2 separate regions of the Homo sapiens genome follow, and region 1 is linked to region 2. The links are contacts of gene promoters, found by promoter capture Hi-C in human tissues and cell types (Jung and others, 2019). All regions are on one chromosome and are shown on one strand. The core of a region is centred on a gene start or on the middle of the fragment in contact, and the rest is flanking DNA. Distances in the headings are between cores, read along the strand shown. Region 1 has its middle 69 kb from the start of MIR4289. Region 2 holds the start of SPIN1 (spindlin 1).

Evidence for each region. Contacts are between HindIII fragments. The study calls those that stand out against the background at their distance.
Region 1: a fragment that was not itself captured here is called in contact with the fragment with the promoter of SPIN1 in region 2 in 1 of the 25 tissues and cell types used here (dorsolateral prefrontal cortex).

What each region holds. Positions count from the first base shown.
Region 1 is chr9:88,813,421-88,817,178 of GRCh38, reverse strand. No RefSeq gene overlaps it. Among named protein-coding and RNA genes, the nearest start is that of MIR4289, 69 kb to the right of the region's middle. The HindIII fragment of the contact is 5,052 bases long and covers 1-3,758 here.
Region 2 is chr9:88,386,385-88,390,238 of GRCh38, reverse strand. SPIN1 (spindlin 1) reads right to left here and starts at 1,795. Exons shown (of 6, transcript NM_006717.3): 1 at 1,701-1,795. LOC124902204 (a long non-coding RNA gene) reads left to right here and starts at 1,040. Exons shown (of 2, transcript XR_007061652.1): 1 at 1,040-1,127; 2 at 2,122-3,854. RefSeq lists a silencer at 1,143-2,042 and an enhancer at 2,120-2,979. The HindIII fragment of the contact is 12,466 bases long and covers 1-3,854 here.

The sequences.
Region 1 (3,758 bases), core at 563-3,062, 430 kb before region 2:
ATTTAAAGTGGTTATTCCTGAATGGGGTAGTTTAGATAGTTTTAACTTTTTATCTATTTGTATTTACTATAAATACAATTTTTCCTTAAATTTCATTATAATAAATAAATAAATATAAATAAATTTCCTTATAATTTTCGTGTGTGAGAAGGAGAGAACAAAATTCTTATTTCAAAGAAAAATAGAGTCAACACTGCATCATCAGCTGGAGAAGAGCTGAGCTACCTTTGGTACTTCTGGTACACCTGGTATCCCTGCTACACCTGGTCCCCTGGCACACCTGGTGCCTTGTACATCTGGTACCCCTGATGTGAATAGTCCCTGGGCACACCTGGTACCCATAGCACACTTGGTCCTGTGGCACACCTGGTCCCTGGATGCACCTGGTACGCATGGCACACTTGGTTCTCTGGCATACCTGGTCCCTGGCACACCTTGTTCCTGGCACACCTGGTCTCCTGGCACAACTGGCACCCTTGGCACGTCTGATCCCTCCGGCACACCTGGTACTCTGGCACACCCTAGTACACCTGATATACCTGAAGCAAAGGAGTTGGCCTGTGACATTGCCCACTCAAAAAGTGAGCTGTTGGAGCACATAGATTACCTGGCCCCAGGGGAATCCCAACTTGAAAAGCCCTGGATCTGGATCCTGTCCATCCTTCTCCTTTCAGACTCAGTTGTTGTCTACACTGTTCCAGAGCAGGGACCATCACAGTGACCGATGCAGAGACCAACACAGCAGGAAATTCCACAGTAGACCACACTCCATGAAGATGGAGTGTCTGCCTCAACCCAACCCAGGGACTGACCACAGGGAGCCGGCAAGAGAGTCAGTCATCAGTCATGATGCACGGCGCTCTACCGAGGAGTCAAAGGCAGGAAATGAGAATAGACTGGAGGTCGGTGAAGCGCTTTGTCAGTGGCCAGGAAAGCAACAACCAGCTCCCACGCAAGGCTCTGGGACAACTTGAGCTCCTGCCTCACTCTCTCCAGGCCTCCCCTACACTACTTGTATTTTGGGACCAGCATGCTCGGAATATCTGGTATGACGAAGATGGGGCAGAGAGAGTGAGAGAAAGAGAGACCCAGGCCTAAATTTCTCCACTCGTTACAGGTGTGGAAAGTGAAGGAGGCTGCCCAGGAGATGTTTCATGAGTTCTGACTTTATGGCACATCACCTGGGAGGCGATAGCAGATGGCCCAGTACTAGTCCCAGCTTTGGAGCAGGCAGATCAGAAATGCCCTTCCCCCGGGATACCTAGGAAGAAGATGGGCCAGGAAGGCTGCAGAGTCCTTTCTCCCCTAAGTGACCTGCTGGAAATGCTCAGCAATTCTTGTTAGAACAACAGATCTCGTGCACATCCATAGAAACATGCATTTGTGCAAACAGAATCCCTTCTGCTTTGGTGCACAACCTTTTGCACAAATTCACGCTTTTGAGCAGACACTCCGCTTCTGGGGCAGGAGTACGTCACTGTATCAGTCTTTCATTTTCTCTTCTGGCATCTGAATACTCTCATTTCTTCTTAATTTTCCACCAGTTTTTCCTCTCGTTTGCTACTGATCTGCCTGGCTCTCCTTTATACCGCATCTGAGCACCCTGCACATGCCTCTTGAAAGTGAATGAGTGCCTTAATTGGAAAATGCTCTCTCATTCACCACAGGGAAGAGAAGAATACTCCAGCTAATAATGTCTTTTCCACAGAGCCCTCGACCAAATGACTCTCTCTGTTTTAATTGAGAGCCAAAGCTTTTGAAAATGAATATGTATCTTCAGGGATGGATAAAGAATGCAGTTTGATCTTATGGAAATGTCACGTTGGGATGTGAAGGTGATGGATTGTTCAAGAATCAACCAAAGAGGACAGCTCTGGCCCAGGCTGCTGAGGGACAACCGAGCTCAGATGATGCCCCCAGAGAGCAGTGGGATAACTGGGGAGGGACCACATGGTGGTTGCCAATGAGTCTCGATAGGTAGAAAAAAGGACTGAAATGAAGGCAGCAGCTAAGGACAAGGTGACAGTCTGTGACTTTGAATGGCATGCTATTTCCAACAAGCATCCCAAAGCAGAAATAAACATGGTTGGAAGGGGAGTGCAGAACATGAAATATCTACTGAGAGCTGAGGGCCACACCAGGGTGGTTAGGAGGGGAAAGAAGAAGAAACTTCAGGAATAAAAGCATTTTAAGTCTCTTAGCAACTGCCTATAGATGGAGACACGCTGGGTGGAGGCTGTCACAGGGCTTCTTGCGGGGTGTCCACCCCTCTGTTGGCCTCCTTGGACACCACTGCCCTGAAAAGGAGGGGAAAGTGCATTTCTCAAGCTGAAGCCCTGGCCAGGGCCTCTAATTTTACTTCCATGAGTGTGCCCTGATTGATTTTGAAAGGGAGGAGGTGGATCATAAAAAAACACAGCCCACAGCCGAGCCATAATCAGCTGCAGCTGCTGCTGGGATAGAGTCCTGACAGGCAAATGGCATCATGATGGAGCATTCCTTGGGACTGGCAACATTCGGCTGCCAGTGTGGGGGCAGGGAGGCAGTCTATTATTAGGAACATGCCTGAGATGTGAGTTTGCAGAATTCATTGCTCTAGATTAAAATCACTTTTGCAGGGAACAAACTCTGGAGATGGTGGAGGTACGTAGACTTCCTCTCAGCTTGAAAGATGTATCAAACTTTAAGAGGGGCTTGGACCACCCATTTGCAAATTGCTTTTTCATGCAGTTAATTTTATTTATTTTTCATCCAAATCTTAAAGCAGACCCCTCCTTTAAAAGTGTATGGCCAGCCGCGCTGGCTCATGCCTGTAATCCCAGCACTTTGAAAGGCCAAGATGGGTGGATCACCTGAAGTCAGGAATTGGAGACCAGCCTGACCAATGTGGTGAAACCCTGTCTCTACTAAAAATACAAAAATTAGCCAGGTGTTGTGGCGGGCACCTGTAATCCCAGCTACTCGGGAAGCTGAGGCAAGAGAATTGCTTGAACCCAGGAGTTGGAGGTTGCACTGAGCCAAGATCATGCCATTGCACTCCATCCTGGGCAACAAGAGTGAAACTCCAGCTCAAAAAAAAAAAAAAAAAAAAGTATATGGCCAATAGATCAACAGAAAGTGCCCTAAAGTAAAGGACTGTTTACATAAATGACTAAGGCACATAGGGACCCTGGAGGCTCTGACCTTGACCTGGGTCTGAGTGGGGAAACCCCACACGCTCATTTCTTAGCGTTTCTGCACGCATGTTTTGCTTATTAAAGAGAATTATAAATCCCATGCTTTCTAAATCTTTTGATGGAAAGCAATTTTCTTCCCAGAGATGAAAAGATGTTAACATGAAGGCGCTGCTTGGAAAACAGGGCACAGGACTGGCTGCATTTCAAACGAGGTGCCGGAGCTTATGCAACATTTACAACGGAATTCATTAAAAATTGGTTTTGCTCTCTGAGGACCTGTTGGAGCATCTAGGCCTCATGTGGGGGAGGCTGGGAGACTCTGTGAAAAGGATTATTTGGAGGGTGTATCGAAGCCCCCTGTAGGTGTGGAAGGTGTTTTCCCTTTTAGCTCAAGTCAAGAGCTCATCCTGCCCGCTTCCGTGTGAGGAACTGCTTCCTGTGGCTGTTAAGATCATGGGGAATGGGAGACCCACTGTGCTGGGAGTGATGCCCTGTCAGAGCCGGCTGCAGCTCAGGGTGCAGGAGGCCTGATGGGATGTGGGCCTGGTGTGGGAGGTAGCAGCATCAAAGGCCAGCTCAGCT
Region 2 (3,854 bases), core at 546-3,045:
GCAATGGCTGTTCCAGGGAACATCCATTTTCACTGTTTCCTGGATTTCAGGCATAGAAAGATGACTGAAGACATATAGTGGCCCTTTTGCCTTGACCCAGTTCATAACCATTGTAAAAGTAACCATTTCACTACTCAAAAGATTATAAAGAAACTATTTTTCCTAAGAATCTAGGATCTACTACCTATAATTCTGGCATACACATTCTTTACAACCTTAATATATAATTATCAAATCTGATAACGAACGTTCTGTAAATTACCAGGTACTACAATATTTTGGTGTTTGCCTTTTAACTAAAGCTGAGGGGGGAGAGTGGGGAGGTTGGAAGAAGCCTCATTTCACCTGCCCTTTCCAAAATTTCACTTCAAAAGAGTGTTAAAAAAAACTCAGTATATCCAGGTATAAATCTCCAAGTTTAATTTTCACTGCTTAACAAAAGCGATGTAGAAAGCAATTACTGTACCCTCCATTAATCCTTTCGGATTGCATGGAATTCCTTCCAGAAAATTCCAATAGAAAAAAAGTTAAGACAGGTAATCGCGTTTTGGTACGTGTGTCGTCTCTGGCACAAGTCATGTAGAGTGAAATCCTTTAAGACATTTAAATGTTCCTGGTATTGTTTTGTGATTAACGTGATAAAATTGCCAAACAATCCATATTTACCATGAGTGAAAACACTTCCACCACGTACGGAAAATCTCTCCAAAACACAAAATCTGATTCAAAAATTATAAGTAAAAAGAGAATAAATGTAAAAACAATTCCATAAACAAACTTTGAAATGCGTATACGATGACATTACTGAAGCCATTACTCAAAACGAACCTCTGTAAAATCGAGAACGCACAATCAATGCAATAAAATGCTCGAGAAAGCCAAACCCGAGGCGCTGCGCAGTTCCCGCATCGCACAATTCGTTTCAACACATTCCTTGACGAATACACCCAAGGTCACTCACGATGGAGAGGAAAAGTGCCTGTCTCTCTCCAGAGCACGCAACCCGTTCGCCGCGCCCCCACGGAGGGCGGCGAAGAGACGGCGCATCAGGAAAGGGGCTGCGCGGGCGCGAGGACTGGCCGGTGGGCGTTCCGGCGCCGCGAACCGCGGAGCCTGCAACTTACAAGGTCCGCGGCCATCCCCCGGGCCTGGGAGGGGTGGCCCCAGGGCAGGCCCGCGTCCCCGGGGTGACCCGACCCGTCGCGCCGGGGTCCCGCCCCTCCCCCCGCCCCGCCCCCGTCGCCGGCCCGGGATTATGCAACGTTCCCCCTCCCCGCCTGCATTCTGGCGCAGCGCCCCCTCCCCGCGCCCGACTGCGCAGCGCCGCCGCCCCCTGCCCGCCGGCCTCCCCGCCCGGCTCCAAACAAAGCGCGCGCTAAGGGGCCGGCGGCGGCCGGGGAACTGGGGACGAGAGGGTGGCGGCCATGTTGGCGGGGGGCGGCGGGGATGGGGGCACGGAGGAGTAGGGGCCGGCGAACAAAGGAGCGCGCGCCCGCCCCGAGGCCCAGGCCCGCCCAGCCCGGGTCCCCGCCGCGGCCCAGCCGGCAGGGGGCGCTATGCGGGCGCCGCCCGCTGGACAATGCTCCGCCGGGCCCCGCGCGGGCCGCGCTCACCTGCGCCCCCGGGCAGACCGCCGCACCGCTGGCCCGCCCGCAGCCCGCACTCCCTCACGACCCACGCCCGCCCTGCGCGGGCCTCACCTGCTGACCGCCGAGGCTGCAGTCCACAGGCCCACGGGTTCCGCCGTCGCTCGTTCGCGCTCCCGCCGGCCCCAGCCTGAGCCAGACGGCGCCTCCCCGCCCCCGCTCCCTCGCCGCGGACGCCGCCCGCCCCCCAACAGTCAGGGCGCACGCGCACTGCGCCCGCCGAACTGCGACGGCCGCGCCGCCCCGGCGCCTGGCGCCGACGGCCGACTGCGCAGGCGCAGTGGGGCGGGGCGGGGCCGGCGAGGGCGGGGCCTGGCCCCTCTCACCTGGCTGGCGGCAGGGCGGGGCTCGAGCCCGGGACTGCCAGGTGCGCGCCGGGAATGGGCGGCGGCAGGCGCGCGGGGCACAGGTTCCTGAGGGGGCGCAGCTTTTCCTGGAAGGCAGGCAGCCTGAGAAGGGCTTCGTTTTTGCGCAGTAGGACGTTGAAGAAAGGACAAGCCCCCTTTGTCCTGGACGTAAGCCGCAAGTCGTCCTGAGTGGTGCACACCGCGAAGACTGAGGAAACTGGATCACAGGGCTGGGCCGTGAGCCTTGAACCTCGGAGAACGTCGCATTACTGCTCCAGCGCGCCGGTTCAGGGCCGCGGGACGCGAGCCCTTTAAAAGGATGGATTTGCTTCCTGTGACTCCCTGGAAGAGACGTCTTCACCACCGCACTGCGTAGAGGCCGGCGTCGTCGCCGGCTCACCCCGCTTGCTGCCTCCCCGCACAAAGCCCAGCCCAGGTAGCTCAGGTTAGCTGGAGCCCCGGAGCCTCACCTACAAGTACCTGGCCTGTCCTAGGTTGTGTGGGGACGGGATGTGGCTTCTGCAAGCCCAGAAACCTGTTTCCACTCCCCCACCACAAATGGAACTCACCCAGCTCTACTCGCAAGGTTAGGAGCCAAAAATTCCCATGATCGCACGCGAATTCATTTGACTTCCGTTTCAGTTAAGATGCCTTTTCAGCATTTTGTTGCTTGTTTGCAGAAGGGAGAGAGGTAGGATCAAGAATAGTTTTTACTCCTGCAGAGTCGAGTGCGAGACTTGGAGGCTGAGTCCAGGCGCTCTCCCCTCCCCGCCAGTCCCGTGTCCTGGAGCAGGTCACTGACCTGGTTCCTCGAGTGCGACAGCGCAGCCTCATCGTAATAAACCGCCTCCCAAAGCGTTGTCAGATCAAATTCCAGAACATGTTACTGGAAAGCACCTTGAACACTCTAAACTGCAGCACAGTTATTAGTTAGCAATACTCTTTGGGGTTTCACTGGCACCTTTTCTAACAAATAAGATTGATAGATGCCTGCTCAAACAAATTGAAGTGCTTGTCTCAGATGACACACTTGGCAGGCATGGGACGTTCACAGGCCAACTAGAGAGCTAATTTCAAAACTGAGATATAAAAGTGTATCGCTGTACTTACAAGTTACCAAGTGTTGAGAAATTACTCACTTTCATTTGTGTGTTTAATGTCTTTTTTGTTTTTTTAGACGGAGTCTCACTCTGTTCCCCAGGCTGCAGTGCAGTGGCATGATCTCGGCCCACTGCAACCTCCGCTTCCTGGGTTCAAGCAATCCTCACATTTCAGCCTCCCGAGTAGCTGGGATTACAGGCGCGCACCACCATGTCCAGCTAATTTTTAAAAATATTTTTAGTAGAGACGGGGTTTCGCCATGTTGGCCAGGCCGGTCTCAAACTCCTGGCCTCCAGCAATCCGCTGGCCTCGGCCTCCTGAAGTGCTAGGATTACAGGCGTGAGCCACCGCGCCTGGCCTGTTTAATGTCTTGCAGTGGGGTCATCTCCGAAACAAAGAGGGATGGGAAGAAGGTAGGTGCCAAGAAGTCTGCTGGTTGGAAGATTTCATCTCATTGGCGAGATCCCTGGGTTTCTCCACCTCAGCAGTGTTGGCTTTTGGGATGGGATAATCCTTTCATGTGGGGTCTGTTCCATGCTTTGTAGGATGTTTGACAGCATCCCTGGCCTCCACCCACTAGATGCCAGTAGCACACACACTCCTCCAAAATTCACGGAAAACGTCTTCAAAGTCAAATATGTGGCCCCACCTTCATCTCCATCCCCAACCCCTGATTTAAAATTTGCCACTGGTGATGATCTCATTGGGAGCTATTGAGAATACACAGGACTGTGGTTTACACCTGTAATCCCAACACTTT